6 separate regions of the Homo sapiens genome follow, and regions 1, 2, 3, 5 and 6 are each linked to region 4. The links are contacts of gene promoters, found by promoter capture Hi-C in blood cells and fetal thymus (Javierre and others, 2016). All regions are on one chromosome and are shown on one strand. The core of a region is centred on a gene start or on the middle of the fragment in contact, and the rest is flanking DNA. Distances in the headings are between cores, read along the strand shown.

Evidence for each region. The method cuts DNA at HindIII sites, captures the fragments that hold promoters and counts their contacts. A CHiCAGO score of 5 or more calls a contact.
Region 1: a fragment that was not itself captured here is called in contact with the fragment with the promoter of TAS2R9 in region 4 in 13 of 17 cell types (endothelial precursors, M1 macrophages, M0 macrophages and 10 more); the score reaches 13.6 in endothelial precursors.
Region 2: a contact is called between a fragment that was not itself captured here and the fragment with the promoter of TAS2R9 in region 4, in 14 of 17 cell types (M1 macrophages, naive CD8 T cells, total CD8 T cells and 11 more). The highest score is 12.8, in M1 macrophages.
Region 3: a contact is called between a fragment that was not itself captured here and the fragment with the promoter of TAS2R9 in region 4, in 5 of 17 cell types (activated CD4 T cells, erythroblasts, M0 macrophages and 2 more). The highest score is 6.5, in activated CD4 T cells.
Region 5: a fragment that was not itself captured here is called in contact with the fragment with the promoter of TAS2R9 in region 4 in 4 of 17 cell types (activated CD4 T cells, total B cells, M0 macrophages and 1 more); the score reaches 6.0 in activated CD4 T cells.
Region 6: a fragment that was not itself captured here is called in contact with the fragment with the promoter of TAS2R9 in region 4 in 14 of 17 cell types (M1 macrophages, non-activated CD4 T cells, total CD4 T cells and 11 more); the score reaches 11.3 in M1 macrophages.

What each region holds. Positions count from the first base shown.
Region 1 is chr12:11,494,641-11,497,340 of GRCh38, forward strand. No RefSeq gene overlaps it. Among named protein-coding and RNA genes, the nearest start is that of LINC01252, 52 kb to the right of the region's middle. The HindIII fragment of the contact is 956 bases long and covers 942-1,897 here.
Region 2 is chr12:11,472,636-11,475,335 of GRCh38, forward strand. The region is part of intron 2 of LOC440084 (a long non-coding RNA gene); the gene reads right to left. Among named protein-coding and RNA genes, the nearest start is that of LINC01252, 74 kb to the right of the region's middle. The HindIII fragment of the contact is 285 bases long and covers 1,148-1,432 here.
Region 3 is chr12:11,422,817-11,425,516 of GRCh38, forward strand. No RefSeq gene overlaps it. Among named protein-coding and RNA genes, the nearest start is that of PRB2, 29 kb to the left of the region's middle. The HindIII fragment of the contact is 1,857 bases long and covers 469-2,325 here.
Region 4 is chr12:10,808,766-10,811,470 of GRCh38, forward strand. TAS2R9 (taste 2 receptor member 9) reads right to left here and starts at 1,403. Exons shown (of 1, transcript NM_023917.2): 1 at 329-1,403. The coding sequence starts at 1,310. The coding sequence ends at 372. The HindIII fragment of the contact is 1,377 bases long and covers 435-1,811 here.
Region 5 is chr12:11,341,748-11,344,447 of GRCh38, forward strand. No RefSeq gene overlaps it. Among named protein-coding and RNA genes, the nearest start is that of PRB4, 33 kb to the left of the region's middle. The HindIII fragment of the contact is 220 bases long and covers 1,249-1,468 here.
Region 6 is chr12:11,439,486-11,442,185 of GRCh38, forward strand. All of the region lies in intron 2 of LOC440084 (a long non-coding RNA gene), which reads right to left. Among named protein-coding and RNA genes, the nearest start is that of PRB2, 45 kb to the left of the region's middle. The HindIII fragment of the contact is 2,636 bases long and covers 64-2,699 here.

The DNA.
Region 1 (2,700 bases), core at 170-2,669, 690 kb after region 4:
GGCTTTTCAGAGGTTTGCAAAGTAAGGCCCACGGGTCAAATTAAGACCTGTTTGGCCCATAGCTAAGAATTGTCTTTACATTTTTAAGGTTGTTAAAAGAAAAAAAACAAAGATAAATATGTGACATAGACTGTATGTGGTCAGCAAAGTCTAAAATGTCTGCTCCCTGACTCTTTATTTAAAAAGTCTGGGGATCCCTGCTTTCTATGGTTCATTTTGTTTTATTAGATAATGAACACATGCTAATAAAGTTGAATTTAATACTTAAAAACAAGATATCTTCCAAGGAATTTAAAATTGTAAAATTAATACATAGGAAGCATAAGTTTCATGTGTATAGCATATAGAAAAATGCATAATTTTGAAGTTCAGAAAATGAAAAAAATTTGTTCTTAGTCAACAAAAATTCATAAAGAAAAAGAGTTTGTAAAAATGTGAAGGTTCACCTTGGATGAACACGTTGGAAGTAATTCAAGCATTATTGAATTTTTGTATTGAGATGAATGTGTTTTTAATCTTTCAAAATTATATATTATGGATGATAAATTATTTTCTCCTAAACACCAAGTTTTATTGCTTATAGTTTCTCAGTTTCACCTTTACTTTTTTAATGATAACTAGAATATCATTAACACAGAATGTTAATGAGTGAACCATGGCTCAACAGTTTAGTCAATGTGAAGCCAAATTCCAATGCCTCATTTATGATTGCACTTGTATAGAACCCAATAATTTTTTGATGTAAAACTATTGCTTCACCTTATCTACAGACCCCCACCACAGTCCACTTTGTGCCATGTTCTGTAGCTTGTACCTAGAATTAAGGTTTGGATATTTTTGCTGCTGGCTGCCTTTGGTAATTAATTTTATTTCGTCTAGTTTTCTTAAGAGGCAAGGTTACAGGAATTGCCATGTAAATGAATATGCAAGTTAGTAACTTAAGCTTATAGCCAATGCACTATATTTTTAATAGGATAGTAGCTGGATTGATCTGTTTTGCATACAGGTGGTTTTATACAAAGCATATTAGGCATGGGGGAAGGAGCAAAAAAGGAGGGAGAAAGACAGAGACTCTGTCCTGTCCCCTCCATCCAATGAACCAAACTTTAAACACTTAGTTTACGGCAGACTTCCTTTATGATGCATTTTCTTATCCCTCCCTTATCTGTTTTTGAGTTTAGTGTTAACTGTTTTTTTTTAATACCCCACCATATGTTGTTCAAATGTCTATCTATACAACTGTCACACTTCAGGACAGTTGGTCCACATTTCTACTCCTGCCTGCTAGACTGAAGACTCCTTAGGGAAAAGACTGCACCTCCTCTATCTTTCTAGTCCCCTTACCTAATACAGTGCCTACCACGAAGCAGGTAGGTTTGTAAGATGAAGGAATCCATGGATAGTTTGTAATTCTTGGGAGATGACAATGCCTAGTGGGAGTGGCCAGAAGGATTCTTTAAGGATGAAAAAGAATGAAGAGTAATAAGGGGAGGCTGAATGTTGGATGTTCTGGGAGTCACTCCTTCTCCTCTGTGGTTTCTGACCATTGAGAGATCAAATGGGGATGACAGCAGAGATGGCTAAGTTGTCCCCACTATCTATTCTCTCCTTCTTCCAAGGTGATGGAGTCCTCAAATTTTGCCTAAATACATGACTACCCACAAATGAGACTTCAATTCCCAGCATCTCTTGCAGGTGGGTGTGGTCATGTGACTGACATCTGGCCAATGGGATGTAGGCATGTGCTCAATGGCAGTTTCTAGGCCATTGCTTCCTTTTCTCTCCTCATCCTCCAACCTCGATTAAAAGGTCAAGGGCTACATCCAAGGAATGGTGGGGCAGAAAGGAGGAAGGAGCCTGGTATCCCAAGGACTTCATAGGGCAGAGCTGATACACAAGCTTCATAATACAAAATCTGGACTATTGCCTGAGAAAGAAATTAATATTTTTTCATCCTTTCTCTCTTTTCTTTTTCTTTCTTTCTTTCTTTTCCTTCTTTCTTTCCCTCTCTCTTTCTTTCTTTCCCTCTCTCTTTCTTTCTTTTCTTCTTTGTCTTCTTTTCCTTTCTTTTCTTTCTTTCTACCAGCTTTTCCTAGCTTTTTATTGTGGTAAAATAGACCTAACCTAAAATTTACCATCAAAACCATTTTTAAGCATACAGCTCAGTGGCATTCGCACATTTACACTGCTGTGCAGCCGTCACCACCAGCCATTTCCAGGACTTTGCCATCATCCCAACCTGAAACTCTACCCATGAAACACAAGCTGCCCAACTCCCACCTTGTTTCCCCATCCCTGGCGGCCACTGCTTCTGCTGCTATGAACTGGACTGTTCTAGGCACCTCACATAAGTGGACTCACACAATATCTGTCCTTTCATGTCTAGCTTCTCTATTTAATTTTTTTTAATAAAACCTTTTAAGAGACAGGGGTCTCATTATTTTGCCCAGGCTGGTCATGAACTCCTGGCCTCTGGTGATCCTCCCACGTCATCATGACTGACTTCTCTATTTAATTTTTTTTTCTTTTTTTTTTTAAGATGGAGCGTTGCTCTGTCACCCAGGCTGGAGTGCAGTGGTGCAATCTCGGCTCTCTGCAACCTCCACCTCCCAGCTTTCAAGCAATTCTGCCTCAGCCTCCCGAGTAGCTGGGAATACATGTGCATGCTACCACGCCCAGCTAATTTTTTGTATTTTTAGT
Region 2 (2,700 bases), core at 40-2,539, 660 kb after region 4:
TGTATATCTTCTTTGGAGAATTCTCTATTCAAGTTATTTGCCCACTTTTGAATCAGGTCATTTTGTTGTTGAGTTGTAGAAGTTCCATAAATACATTTTTAATTATAATTTTTGTATATGTGTATATATACATGTTAAATACATATTTATATATATTTAAAATGCATTATCAAATATGTCATTTTCAAATATTTTCTCCCATCCATAGATTGCCTTTTCATTCTGTTAATTATGTTAACAAGCAGAAGTTAACCTTAAACTTTCCTGTCATACTATTTGCCTACTTTTGCTTTTGTTGCCTGTGCTTTTGGAGTCATATCCAGTAAATCATTACCAAATCCATTGTCATAAACATTTTTTCCTCTCCTTTTTTCTAGGAGTGTAATAGCTTTAGGTCTTGTGTTTAGATATTTAATCCATTTTGTTGGTTTTTGTATATGGTGTAAGGTAAGTGTCTAACTTCATAATTTTGCATTTGAGTATCCACTTTTCCCAACACCATTTGTTGAAGGAATTGTCCTTTCCTCCATTGGTATAATTTGGACATTTGTCCTCTCCAGATCTCATGTTGAAATTTGATCCCCATTGTTGGAAGTGTTTGGTCATGTAGGTGGATCTCTCATGAATGGCTTGGCGTAGTTGATACGGTTTGACTGTGTCCCCACCCAAATCTCATCTTGAATTGTAGCTCCTATAATTCCCACATGTTGTGGGAGGGGCCCGGTAGGAGATAACTGAACCATGTGGGCGGGTCTTTCCCATGCTATTCTCATCATGGTGAATAAGTCTCACGAAATCTGATCGTTTTATAAAGGAGAATTTCCCTGCACAGGTTCTCTTCTCTTGTCTGCAGCCATGTGAGATGTGCCTTTCACCTTCCACCATGATTGTGAGCCCTCCCAAGCCACGTGGAACTGTGTGTCCATTAAACCTCTTTATTTTGTAAATTGCCCAGTCATGGATATGTCTTTATCAGCAGCATGAGAACAGACTAATACAGTAGTCTCCAGGGTAATGAGTGAGTTCTCTATTTGTTTTCACAAGATCTGATTTTTAAAATGAGCCTGGCATCTCCCTCCTTTCTCTTGCTTGCTCTCTGTCTTGCCATATGATGCCTGCAGCCCTTTTACCTTCTGCCATGATTGTAAGCTTCCTGAGGCCCTTACAAGAAGTAGAAAGTAGATGCTGGTGCCATGCCTCTGGTACAGGCTGTCGAATTGTGAGCCAAATTAACCTTTTTCTTTTAAAAATCACCCAGCCTCACATATTTATTTATAGCAGTGCAAAATGAACTACAACAGAAAATTGGTACCAAGAAATGGGGTGTTACTATAAAGAAACTTGAAAATGTGGAAGCAGTTTTGAAAACAGGGTAATGGGCAGAAGTTGGAAGAGTTTGGAGGACTCTGAAGAAGACAGGAAGAAGAGAGAAAGCTTGGAACTTCTCAGAGACTGGTTAAATGGTTGTGATCAAAATGCTGATAGAACTAGGGACAATGAAGGCTATATTGATGAAGTCTCAGATGAAAATGAGAAACTTATAGGGAACTAAAGTAAATGTCACCCTTGTTATGCCCTAGCAAAGAAATTGGCTGCACTGTGTCCATGTCCTAGGACTTTGCGGTAGGCTGAATTTTAGATTGATGACTTAGGGTATCTGGCAGAAGAAATTTCTAAGCAGCAAAACATTCGAGAAGAGTCATGTCTGCTTCTAACAACCTAGGGTCGGTTTTGGGAGCAAAAAAATTACCTAAAGTTGGAACTGATAATGAATAGGAAATCAGAACATAAAAATTTGGCAAATTCACAGCCCACTGTGTGGTAGACAAGGTGTGGCAGAGGTGTGGTAGAGAAGGAAAGACCATTTTCAAAGAGAGGAATCCAAGGAGGCTTGGAGTCACCACTTGCTAGAGAGATTGGCAATAATAAAAGGGAGCCAGATGCTGATGGTCAAGACAATGAGAAAAAGACCCTGACATTTCAGAAATCTTCAAGGCCACCCCTCCATCACAGGCCCAATGTCCTAAGACAGAATGGCTTCAGGGGAACTGCCTAGGGTGCCACTGCCCTGTTGGATGCTGCTTTCCTGCTGCTCTGCCTCCATCCCCAGCTCAAAGAGTCCCAGGGACTGCTTGGGCTGCTGCTCCAGAGGGCACAAGCCATAAGCCTTGGCAGCTTCAACATGGTGGTAAGTCTGCAGGCACACAGAGGCAAAAGCCATGGAGGCTTGGCAGCTTCCACCTAGATTTCAAAGGATGTATTGGAAAGCCTGAGTGCCCAGGCAGAAGCCTATCTGCAAAAAGCCTTTATTAGGGAAGTGCCTAGGGGGAAATGTGGGGTTGGAGCCCCAGCAAAGCATCCTTACTGGGGCACTGATTGGTGGAGCCCTGGGAGCAGGGCCACTGCCATTCATATCCCAGAATGGTAGCACCACCAACAGCATGCACCTTCAGTCTAGAAAAACCATGGGCACCACATCCCAACCCCTGGGAGCAGCCACAGGGGCTATGCTCAACAAAGCCATGGGGACAGTGATGCCCAAGGCCTTGGGAGCCCACCCCTTCTACCATTGTGCCCAGGATGTGAGACATGGAGTCAAGTGAGAGCATTCTGTACCTTTAAGATTTAATGTCTGTCCTGCTGGGTTTCAGAATTGCGTGAGGCCTCTTGCCCCTTTCCTTTGGCCAATTTTTCCTTTTC
Region 3 (2,700 bases), core at 147-2,646, 610 kb after region 4:
CTATCTTTTACCTTCATGCTAGATTCCATACCGTATTACCTAATCAAGGATTTTGCTTCCGTAATTATGTTCCATTTCTCCCTGCATCTTCAATTTGTTCTTCTTTATGACAAATGTGCTGTAATATCTCCCATTTTTACAAAGCTCTCTCTACATATTTAATGCCTCTCCATTTACCACACAATTTGTCTGACATCTTTATTGCAAAAATCTTTGAAAAGAATGTTATAGTTATTGTTCGCCATGTTCTCACCTCCCATTTTCTCTTCCACACACTCTATAGGGGCTTTTGTACTCACCACTTCCATCATTTTCATAATAATGAAATCCAAATCTGTTTCTAAAGCCAAGGTTCTGCATAATTGGTCCCCTGCCTATCTCCTATCTTTGAACTTATTGACTTCTCTATAACTAATTTACTTCACTAATTTAGCCACACTGGCCTCTTAACACTATGCCAATATACCAAGCTTGCTTATATCTTTATCAAGCATGTTTTGTCCCTTTATTCAAATCTGTTCAAATGTCACCATTTTGAAGCCTTCTTTGAATACACAAAAATCCTCAATCCCCTTAACTTGCTTATTTTTGTATCAAAATTGTTGTCATTAGGAGACAGCTGATACCCAAGATTCCTTCCTCCTGATATTCACATGCTTGTGTGGTTCCCACCTTAATATATCAGGATTGGTCTGTGTGACCCATAGAATATGAGGAAAGTGTTAGTATATATTAATACCCCTGAGATCATGTTATAAAAGAAACTGTGGCTTCATTTTTTTTTTTTTTTTGGCAACTTCACTCTGTCTGTCTCTTTGTCTCACTGTCTTGATCTCTCTCTTTCTCTCTTTCCCTTTCTCACATCTTTTACTTTGGGAAAGACCAGCAGCCATGTCCAATAGCTTTATGGAGAGGCCATCCTTTCCAAGTGAATCTCTAGGCGTCTCCTTCATTTGACTTCACAGTGAAGCAAGCACCTAGAGGGGATGAGAAGGAAAAGTTTCCCACCCTCAATCTCTCAGTCCCCACTTGATCTCTATAACAATTTCACTCTGCCCAAATTGTGTCTAATGTGGACACAGTGGGGTGAATGATAGGGATGCATTGGCTTCCTTCTAGTAGGCCCTGCTAGGAAGTGAGGTGTCAGTTTCAAGTACTGATGACTTTTTGGTTGTGATTTCATTTTTAGAATGAGGAAATATTATTTGCCTTTTGTTCACCAATATCATCACTACCCTGTACCTATTAATTACGCTTATATTTCCTTCCTTACAAAACCTTTTGTTTTTCCTGGAGTTAATAATTACCTCCTTTTTCTCACTTATTTGGTTTTCTTTAAACATCTAAGTCTTCCTGACACTTCCAACGGACTTGTAAAATCCCTCTTCATACAATTTTCCTCACTGACACTTCTCAGATAATTTGCCTTTGTCCTGGAAATTTTATTTTCTTCTCTCAAATAGGGTGATGCATATCCTGAGTTAATGCCTCCCTCTTTCTCAGCCTTCTTCTTTGGTGAAACCCATTCTTCCATAGCTTGTTGCAAATGAGCCACATGAGAGGGGAAACATTTCAAGATCATTCATGTCTAAGAATGTGCTTAGTCTGGCCTCACACTTGACTGATAATCTGGCCAAATATAGGACACTAGGTTGAAAATGACTTTTGCTCAGAATCTTTCTGACACCATCTTCTAACTTTTACCCTTCCATTTTCACTCTAATTCTCAATCCTTAGTGTAAAACTGTTTTTTTCCTCCACTGGAATCTTGAGGATCATCCTTTTATCCCTAAAATTTAATTAGATTTAAGTTGATATGGATCTCTTTCCATTTATTGTGCTGGGCACTCAGTATTCTATTCCGGGTGTTGCAGGGGCTGTGCTGGGCCCTACATTTTAGATTGGTCTCCACACACCCCAAAACCAAACGCATGGTTTAATTCCTTTCACTCTCCTTGGAAAATATTTTAAAAGTCCAGCAAATAAATAAAAAACAGGAATTGTGGGAGAGGGGCACAGGCAGAACTGTGGTCCTCAAGTCCTGAGGATGCAGAATTGAGAAGGTACAATGAGAATAAATTCACAGCTTCTGCTCTGGGACACCAGAGAAAAAAATGAATGCTTTTGCTTAATGTTTTTCAGCTTAAAAAGACCAAAGAGCACATCTGGGCAGACAGGTTCACCCACTCTCCCTCCATAAATGCACTCTCTACTACTCCTGTGGTCAGTAATATCATTTGGGGAGCTGCTTAGAACCTCCTGGGAAACCCAAATCAGAAGTGAGGCAGGGCAGAGAGCATCGCTTGCCTAGCAGGCTCCCACAAAAGCTTGGCCAGGTCAATGCTTGGCCCCCACCCAGCTTCCACCCTGCTGCTCCAGCAGACAGCCCTACCCCTCTCCATCCTCCCACCTCCCAGCTTGCAGTCAGGGTTAATGCAGGGAAACACATGTTCCTTTAGCCTCCTGGCTAGTTGAGAAAGGCAGTTTCCAAGAGACAGACTGCAGGACTTATGTGGAACCTGACATGAATCTAGGGTCTAGACACTTTATAACTTATAGAGTAGGGGCTATAAAGTAGGTGGGGCTCCATTTGTATTCCTGCACTGGGCACTGCAAATGGTTAAGTGTGGGCCTGCGGATCAACATTGGGCCCTTTCAATATGGAGAATACACCTTAAGTTCTGGGAAATCTAGTGTTTC
Region 4 (2,705 bases), core at 153-2,652:
TCTTTTCCCCAAAGCCTGTTTGCCTGACATTCTTCTACTCATTGAGTTCAAGGCCTTTGCCAGTATTTGTCAGAAAAGAAGTAGAACCTCTTTGTATTTAGTCAATGACATAAAATGATGAAATGTTAGTGTGGGATTTAGATGCATTTTTTTTTTCTGCAACGACAAAGAATATACGGTGCAATGATAACATTAGATTATCCATTAAACAAGACAAAAGTGTGAAGGAACACAAAACAAATCTTCAGAATCATGACAGATATTAATGACTTCCAATAGCATATAAGAGAAAATGAATGCAAACAAGAGAAGGGAGAATGCCTTTTGTTGATTTCTTTCATCCTTGTAGTCAGGATACTCTTTAGGGGTCTCTATGGAACAAAAGGCTTTCTTCTTCTAAGGAAACACTTCACAAATCTTAACATCTTCAGAAAAGCTTCCCTCAACTTGCTATTTCCCATAATTAGAATGAATGAATGGCTTGATGGGAAAATGACAGTTACTATGTCACCAATCATCAACACTAATTTTCCCTGAGGAATCAGAGCGCTAGAGGTCATAACAAGAAAGACTGGGTAGTACACGATGAGGAGGAGCAGAAAGATGATCACTGCCTTTATGGCCCTCATGTGGGCCTCTGTACTGGGGTCTCTGAACCCTGTAGCATGCAGTCGAATCTGCTTGGTGTGTCTAACTAGGGAGAAAAGTAACAAGAAAAATGAGATCAGGCAAAGGATAAAGGGAACCATCACCCCCAGGTTCAGGGTTAACTGTTTGAAAGTACCTGGAATTTTACTCACTTTGAATTTCCAAGTAATGTTTTCTTCATGACTGACTTTGAAAAGGTGATACCACATATCATCATTCTTTGGAACACTAATAATTAAAGAGATAAGAAAGGACCCCAGAAGAATCGCAAGCATGACCTTGTTGATCTTTAGCTTCAGCCAGAAGAAAAATGGGTGCGATATATTGGCTATCTTGAGTAAATAGAAGATACTGAGGCAAGAAGTAAACCAGAGACTTGAATTATTGGCAAATGTCCAGACAACATTCACAATGCTTACTAGCACGCTATTGCCATATGTACCTGGAAAGAGCAGCATAAAGAAGCCATCTAATGATATTACACACAGCAGACAGATTCTGGAGATGGCCAAGCTGATCAGGATGATGTCAATCAAGGAAATATCTCTTCTTTTGAGCCAGTCAATGCAGTTAACTAGTACAATGAATCCATTTCCCCAAATCCCTATGGTCAATTCACCAGCAATTAAAATAATATATATTGCCTCTATTGCACTTGGCATGCCAGCAAAGACTTGTGATTTTTGAATATCACTGATGATGAATTGACTTTCAGCTGACCAGTGAAGAACAATGTATCTGTCTGCCTCTTAGACCATGATATAGTTGTCTTTATCTCTCCTTTTTGTTAGCTGTGATGCAGATGAAGAAGATAGCCAGTCCTGCTCTGGGCTAGAGCTGCCTAAAGACTTCAATGATTGGGGCCAGTAATTTCCTTTGGTGCAGTGATGACTGAAAGCCTCTAGGATGCAAATGGGAATGGATCTGATTTCTTAAATTTGCACACTCTTTCTTATTTTAAGCTCTGTATATTTTGGATTTATCAATCTGAGCTGTTGACCAGGAACTTCAAGAAGGTATCAATTACTTGGAAAATATGGCTAGAATTTAATTTGCTGGATGACTATCCATCCTTGTTAGTATATTGACATAGTTATTGCTATTACAGATTCTAGGTTTACTGTGTTAGCTTGTGTGGCCAGTTTGCTTGCTTGGTTGACTAAAGCTTTAAACAAATTATTATTAACATTAAATGAGGCTTAAATGGCATAACTGGTGGAATGTAGAGGAAAGAATCTAAAGGTGTAGGAAGATAGGAGTATTAAGGTGAATTTATCATATGCGAACTTCACCTTCTCCCCATTATATGACTTAAGAGGGCCAAAAGGACACTCCATTCACTAGGGCATTGAGAAATACATTAATTAGGTAATTCCCAATATCCTCAAAAAGCTCTGCAGTGTTTGTCTTCTCAACTGAAGATACAATGAGGGAAATAAACATGACATTGTAGTGTTGTCAGCAAATGAGACACGGAAAATTCTGGTTTAGATGTTAGGGTTTCTTAGAGTGTTCTTGCTTTGTACCTGAATGTAGCTTCCATACATAGAAAAAATAGTCAAAATACTGGTCACTTATCTTTAGAATGGAAACAGATCAGCCTGAACAGTGAGGAGGACAAAGAGCAAGAAAGTGATATTTTTGGAACTAAAAAGCGTGATAGATATACAAGACTCTTCAGTCTGAACTGAGTGATAAGAATACATGCTCTGAATTTTCTTAGCTCTATTTTTTGGCAGCAGGTGTATTATAAATATTAGTATGCTAATTATACACACATTGGAAACACACTGTTTCATTGGGACATATTGAAACATGTCATTGGGCATAGTAGAACATATTTGAAATAATAGAAAAAGGCACACAGCAATACACAGTTCCCAGAAATATTATTTTGAAACTAATATTAAATTTTAAGGCAATATTAAATATTGCTTATCAAACAAACACAACAATACAAAGTATTTAATGAGATAATGTGTCATATGTTCAGGGTTTTAGACAAAATAAAGAGATAAAAATTAATCTTGCAGATTTTTATGAGAAAGTAAATAGCT
Region 5 (2,700 bases), core at 109-2,608, 530 kb after region 4:
AATTTAACAACAGAAATTGATTTTCTCACAGTTCTGGGGACTCACAGCCCATGATCAAGGTGTTAACAGGTTCAGTTCTTCTAAGATGTCTCTTCTTCCCTTTGACTTGGCTATTTTTTTGTTTTGTCTTCACACATGGGTTTCTCTGTACACATGCACCCCTGGTGTCCCTCCATGTGACCAAAAGTTCCTTTCTTATAACAACAGGAGTCTGATTAGATTGGGACCATCTTAATAGCCTAATTTTCATTTAGGTACCTCTATAAAAAGAAATTCTTTCCAAACACAATCATATTCTGAGGTACAGGGATAGGATTTCAACATACAAATTTGGGTAAAAACAATGCAGCCCATGATACCTCCTAATCTTTACTAAAACAATAACATTTTTTACAGAGTTCTCAAGAACATAGGAGTCACTTTTTACTTTTCACTCCACACCAAGCACTGCATATAAGCAAATACAGTGGGCTCCACTATAAAACACATCCCAAGATGACCCTTTCCATAATCTCTAATATAAGGCTCTAGTGGGGGCATGACCCTCTCTCCTGGAGGACTAGAACAGCCCCTAGCTGCCCTTGTAACCTTCCTGCTCCCACCACATTCCATATCACTTCTCCTCACAATAGCCAGTGTGATCTTTTAATAATAAATATTAAATATTACCTTCTTCCTTCATATCCTCTAAGTTTTCCTGATTTTCCTTTTAGTAAGATCTTGTAAAGTTCACACCTAAGTTTCTTCGTACTCACGTGTCATTCTCAAAGACTGGGAAGCTCTATGCATGGAACTGAAAGAAGAATTTTCTTCAACTTTACAATGCGCTGGTTTGTCTAGAACAACTAAAGAGTGGTTTGCCCAGAAGTTGAACATGGACAGAGTTGTGCTGATAGTGAGTGAATTGCATTTAGTCCCTGTGGTCTGAGGGGAGTTCCTCTGTGTGCCCATTTAATCAACTAAGCATTATGATGATACAGTTAACAATTCAACACAATTGTCTCTGAGAAGTGTACTTTGCTTAGGTTTTTCTAAAAATTCTGGCTACCCTATTATGATAGTGGTTCTCATATGCTGACTTACAGTAGAGTCTTCATAAACATAACTTTCACAATTATATTAGCACATTCATATTCTACAAGCCTATTGTAACATGATAGACTATAATAGGAAATATTTACCAAGCATTGACTATGTGCCATATAATCTTCAGAACCATCTTTTCAGGTAGTAATAATTTTTATTACAAGCTTCATTTTATAGATGAGATGATGGAAGCACATGCCAAGATAGTTATAAAGTTAGTAAGTGGTGTAGATGGCGGTAGTCTCCAGAGCCTCAGTTCTTGCCTCCTTTGCTCCACTGCTCTTTGCATTTATGAACATATTTGTTTATTTTCAAGAAAGTGAGAAGAAATTAGATCCAGACAAGAAACTCAGGTACTGGTTTTAGGACCTGCTTGAAGTAAAGCTTTTCTTAAGACATGACCAGGTGAAGTGAAAAAAAAAAACAAACAAAACTATTTTCTTAAAGTTGTTTCTAAATCATAAGCACATTACACAGGCTTCTACATTCCCCTTTTCTTCATCTTTGTGTATTTAGTCATGCACATGATTAATTTCTTCTTCTTCTTTTTTTTTTTTTTTTTTCTGAAGTCTCCCTCTGTCACCCAGGCTGCAGTGCAGTGGCACAGTCTCTGTTCACTGCAACTTCTGCCACCTGGTTTCAAGCGATTCTCTTGCCTCAGCCTCCTAAGTAGCTTGGATTACAGGCACCTGTCACTAGGCCTGGCTCATTTTTTTAGTTTTAGCAGAGACAGGTTTCACCATCTTGGCCTAGCTGATCTTGAACTCCTGACCTCGTGATACACCCGCCTTAGCCTCCCAAAGTGCTGGGATTACAGGCATGAGCCACCACCCCCAGCCACTTTCTTCTTTTTTATAAATGAAAAAATCACTGGCAATCAGGATCATGAAGTGCTTTTTATGCATGCTTACACACACTTTTCTCAGGAGACATTGGCTAAACTGTGGATACCATTTAAAGTGACCAACATTTTTATTCATATCTCACAAGAAATCCAAACAAAAAGAATTCCTCACCCTGTATATGCCAGGAAAAAAACAAAAAATCAATGTACCGAGTCACCTGGAAAAATCAAATTTATGTGTAGCAAATTTTATTGTATTAGAAAGCCTTTCTGTAATGCATTGGGACTGTAAAATGTTCATGGAAAAAGTATGTTATATTTAAAAAAGAATAGATTCCAATTTTTGCACCAAAATAAACTCATATTGACATGCTCTAACATGTCTGAACAGGAGCTACTTGAGTCATCAAGAAAAATAAGAGCAAGTTCAAAAGTTCCCCTATGAGAGCATCATGAATTCTTCTAAAATTAAAAAGAGTATAAACGTGAACTTCATGGTGAAGCTTGGGTACAAGAAGGTGAAATCAATGATGCTTTCTGAAACACTGGTAGGGATAATGGCCCTAAAAATTGGCAGTTCACAAGTAGGTAACTCATTTCAAGAAGGGATAAGACAAGGTTGAACCTAAAGCCCATAGACACAGAGGATTCATATCAAATTGCATGGATAAAATTGGTACAAGATGAATTTTTGTACCAATAATTCTCGGTACAAACAAGAGCCAACACTACAAAATTCTCAATTGGTTCCCCTTACCTGATTCGAATTG
Region 6 (2,700 bases), core at 132-2,631, 630 kb after region 4:
TCATCTGTACTGAATTCTAGGTGAGAAGACACTGTCAAATGCAACCTTTCAGCAGTGGCTAAAAGCTTGGGTTCTAGACTCAGATTGTCTGGCCATGAACCCAGGTCCTTGGGAGACCTTGAACTTGCCCAAATCACTCTGTCCAGTTTTCCTGATTTGCAAAACGCAGGTGATGATACTAATCCCTTCATAGGGTCATTGTGAGAATTAAATGAACTGATCCATGTAAATTGGTAAATGACATATAATAAATGATCAATGATTGGCACCTTCATTATTATAACTTGAGATGGACCTTAAAGAATAAAGTAAAACTATCCGAGTAATTACCCTCATTAAAGAAAAGTATGTGACTGGAGACTACAATGAGAGGGTGACAAAAAGAGGGCAGTGGAAGAGGAGGTTGTGGCCGTCTGAAATGACACTGGGGAGCATACCAAGGAGATCTTCAAAAGCTGAAGAGTTGAGTCATTATTCTGCTGGCAAAACAGAGTCATTGAGAATGTGAAGTCAATGGTTGGCATGGTAAAAGCCATGCTTTAGGAAGACTAGCCAAACCTGCACAAACAGAGAGCAGGTCAGTAATGGCACTGCACAGGCAAGAGCCACCATGGGTTCAGCAGCATGGTAGCCCTAGGCCTGAAAAGTATACAGATATTAAAGACATTATGAAGGTGAAATTAAAGGGACTTGGTGACTGATTAGATGTGGGGCAAAGTGCCCTCACCATGACATATGCTCAAAAAAGTTGGCTTTCTAGGATTTTAGCTCTTTTAGGAAATGAATTCTCAGAGTTTAAACCACTATCCTAAAAATAAAAAGAAAAGAGGAAGGAGGGGAGGACAAAAAGAATTATAACTCTTCAGATTTGGCCGAAAGCCTTGCCTGGTAGTCAATGAACAAGGAAGAAAACACACTGTGGTACACCATGAAGAGATTTCAGTGGATTTAATTGAAGTTTTAGGACCAATGTGTTCTCTTGGACTTAGCACACATCCTCATGGGCAATTCTGAGACTGATTCCCGTCTTTGTCTCTTAGATATTTTAAGCTCTAGGTTAGACTCTTTTAAACCATGGTGGAGGGACAGCAGGGGGAGCAGGATTTTGATCAGCTGATAGATAAGAAATGCAAAAATTATAACAATGAGATATCACCTCACACCTATTGGGATGGCCACTATCAAAACAACAGAAAATAACAAGTGTTAGCAAGGATGTGGAGAAATTAGAGTCCCTGTACACAGCTTTGGGAATGTAAACTGGAGCAGCCTTTATGGAAAACAATATAGAGGTTTCTTGAAAAATTAAACATAGAGTTACCAAATAATCCATCAATCCCTCTTCTGGACAAATATTCAAAATCAGGATTGTTTTTTTGAAACAGGGTCTCACTCTGTCATCCAGGCTGGAGTGCAGTGGTGCGATCTAGGCTCACTGCAGCCTCTGCCTCCCTGGTTCAAGCGATTCTCACACCTCAGCCTCCTGAGTAGTTGGGATTACAAGTGTTTGCCGCAATGCCTGGCTAGTTTTTGTATTTTTAGTTGAGGTGGGGTTTCACTATGTTGGCCAGGCTGCTCTCAAACTCCTGGTCTCAAGTGATCCACCTGCCTTGGACTCCCAAAGTGCTGGGATTACAGGTATGAGCCACTGCACCAAGAAGAAATCAGGATGTTGAAAAGATCCTTACATATCTTTGTTTATTGCAGCATTATTCACAATAGCCAAGAGGTAGAGCAACTCGGATGTTCATCTATGGATGAATGAAGTTAAAAATGTGGTACACACATATGACGGAATATTATTCAGCCTTTAAAAAGGAATGAATCCTTTCCTATGCTATGAACAAGGTCATACAGATGAACAAACATGGTTACATGGATAAACTTTGAGAACATTATGCTAGATGGAAGAAGCCAGTCACAAAAAGACCAAGACTGCATGAGTCCACTTATGTGAGGTATCTAAAGTAGTCAAACTCACAAAAATGGAAAGTAGAAAGGTGGGTGTCAAGGGCTGGGGGAAGGAGACATTATTGTTCAATGGGTGTAGACTTTTAGTTTTGCAAGATGAAAAATTTCTAGAGATCTCTATTTGTTGCACAACAATGTGAATATACTTAACACAACTGAACTATACACTTAAAAGAAGTTAAGTGGTAAATTTAAGGGTATGGATTTTTTACTACAATAAAAACATTTTTAGCAGTTATAACAAGTAATAATGACTAAATGGCAATTACTATGTCCCAGGCACTATTGTAAATATTTTACAAATTCTGAGTACTTTACAAATATGTACTCATTTTAACCCTCACAATAATCCTAAACAGCATATAAAGTATTATAACAGCATCAATTTACTAATGAAGAAACTGAGGCGCAAGGAAATTAGGTCACTTGCCCAGTTACAGAGCAAGTAAGAGGTAGAGGCAGGAATAAATACAGGCAGCATGGCTTGGAGTAGAGCCCCATTTTTTTTCTCTATTCAGGCTTATCTCTACCCATCTTCTGGTGTTAAGAATAATGACTCTGCTAGTTTGGAATTAATCCCTTTCTTATGTCTCTGCCTCAAATATACTAAAAGTTTTAAGGGCAGGGGCCAAAGCCATACAACTTCATGACATTATGTTATCCAACCAGATGCCTTGGCCATAATCATTGAACCAAATTAACTCACATGTTTTAAAAACAGACATTGAA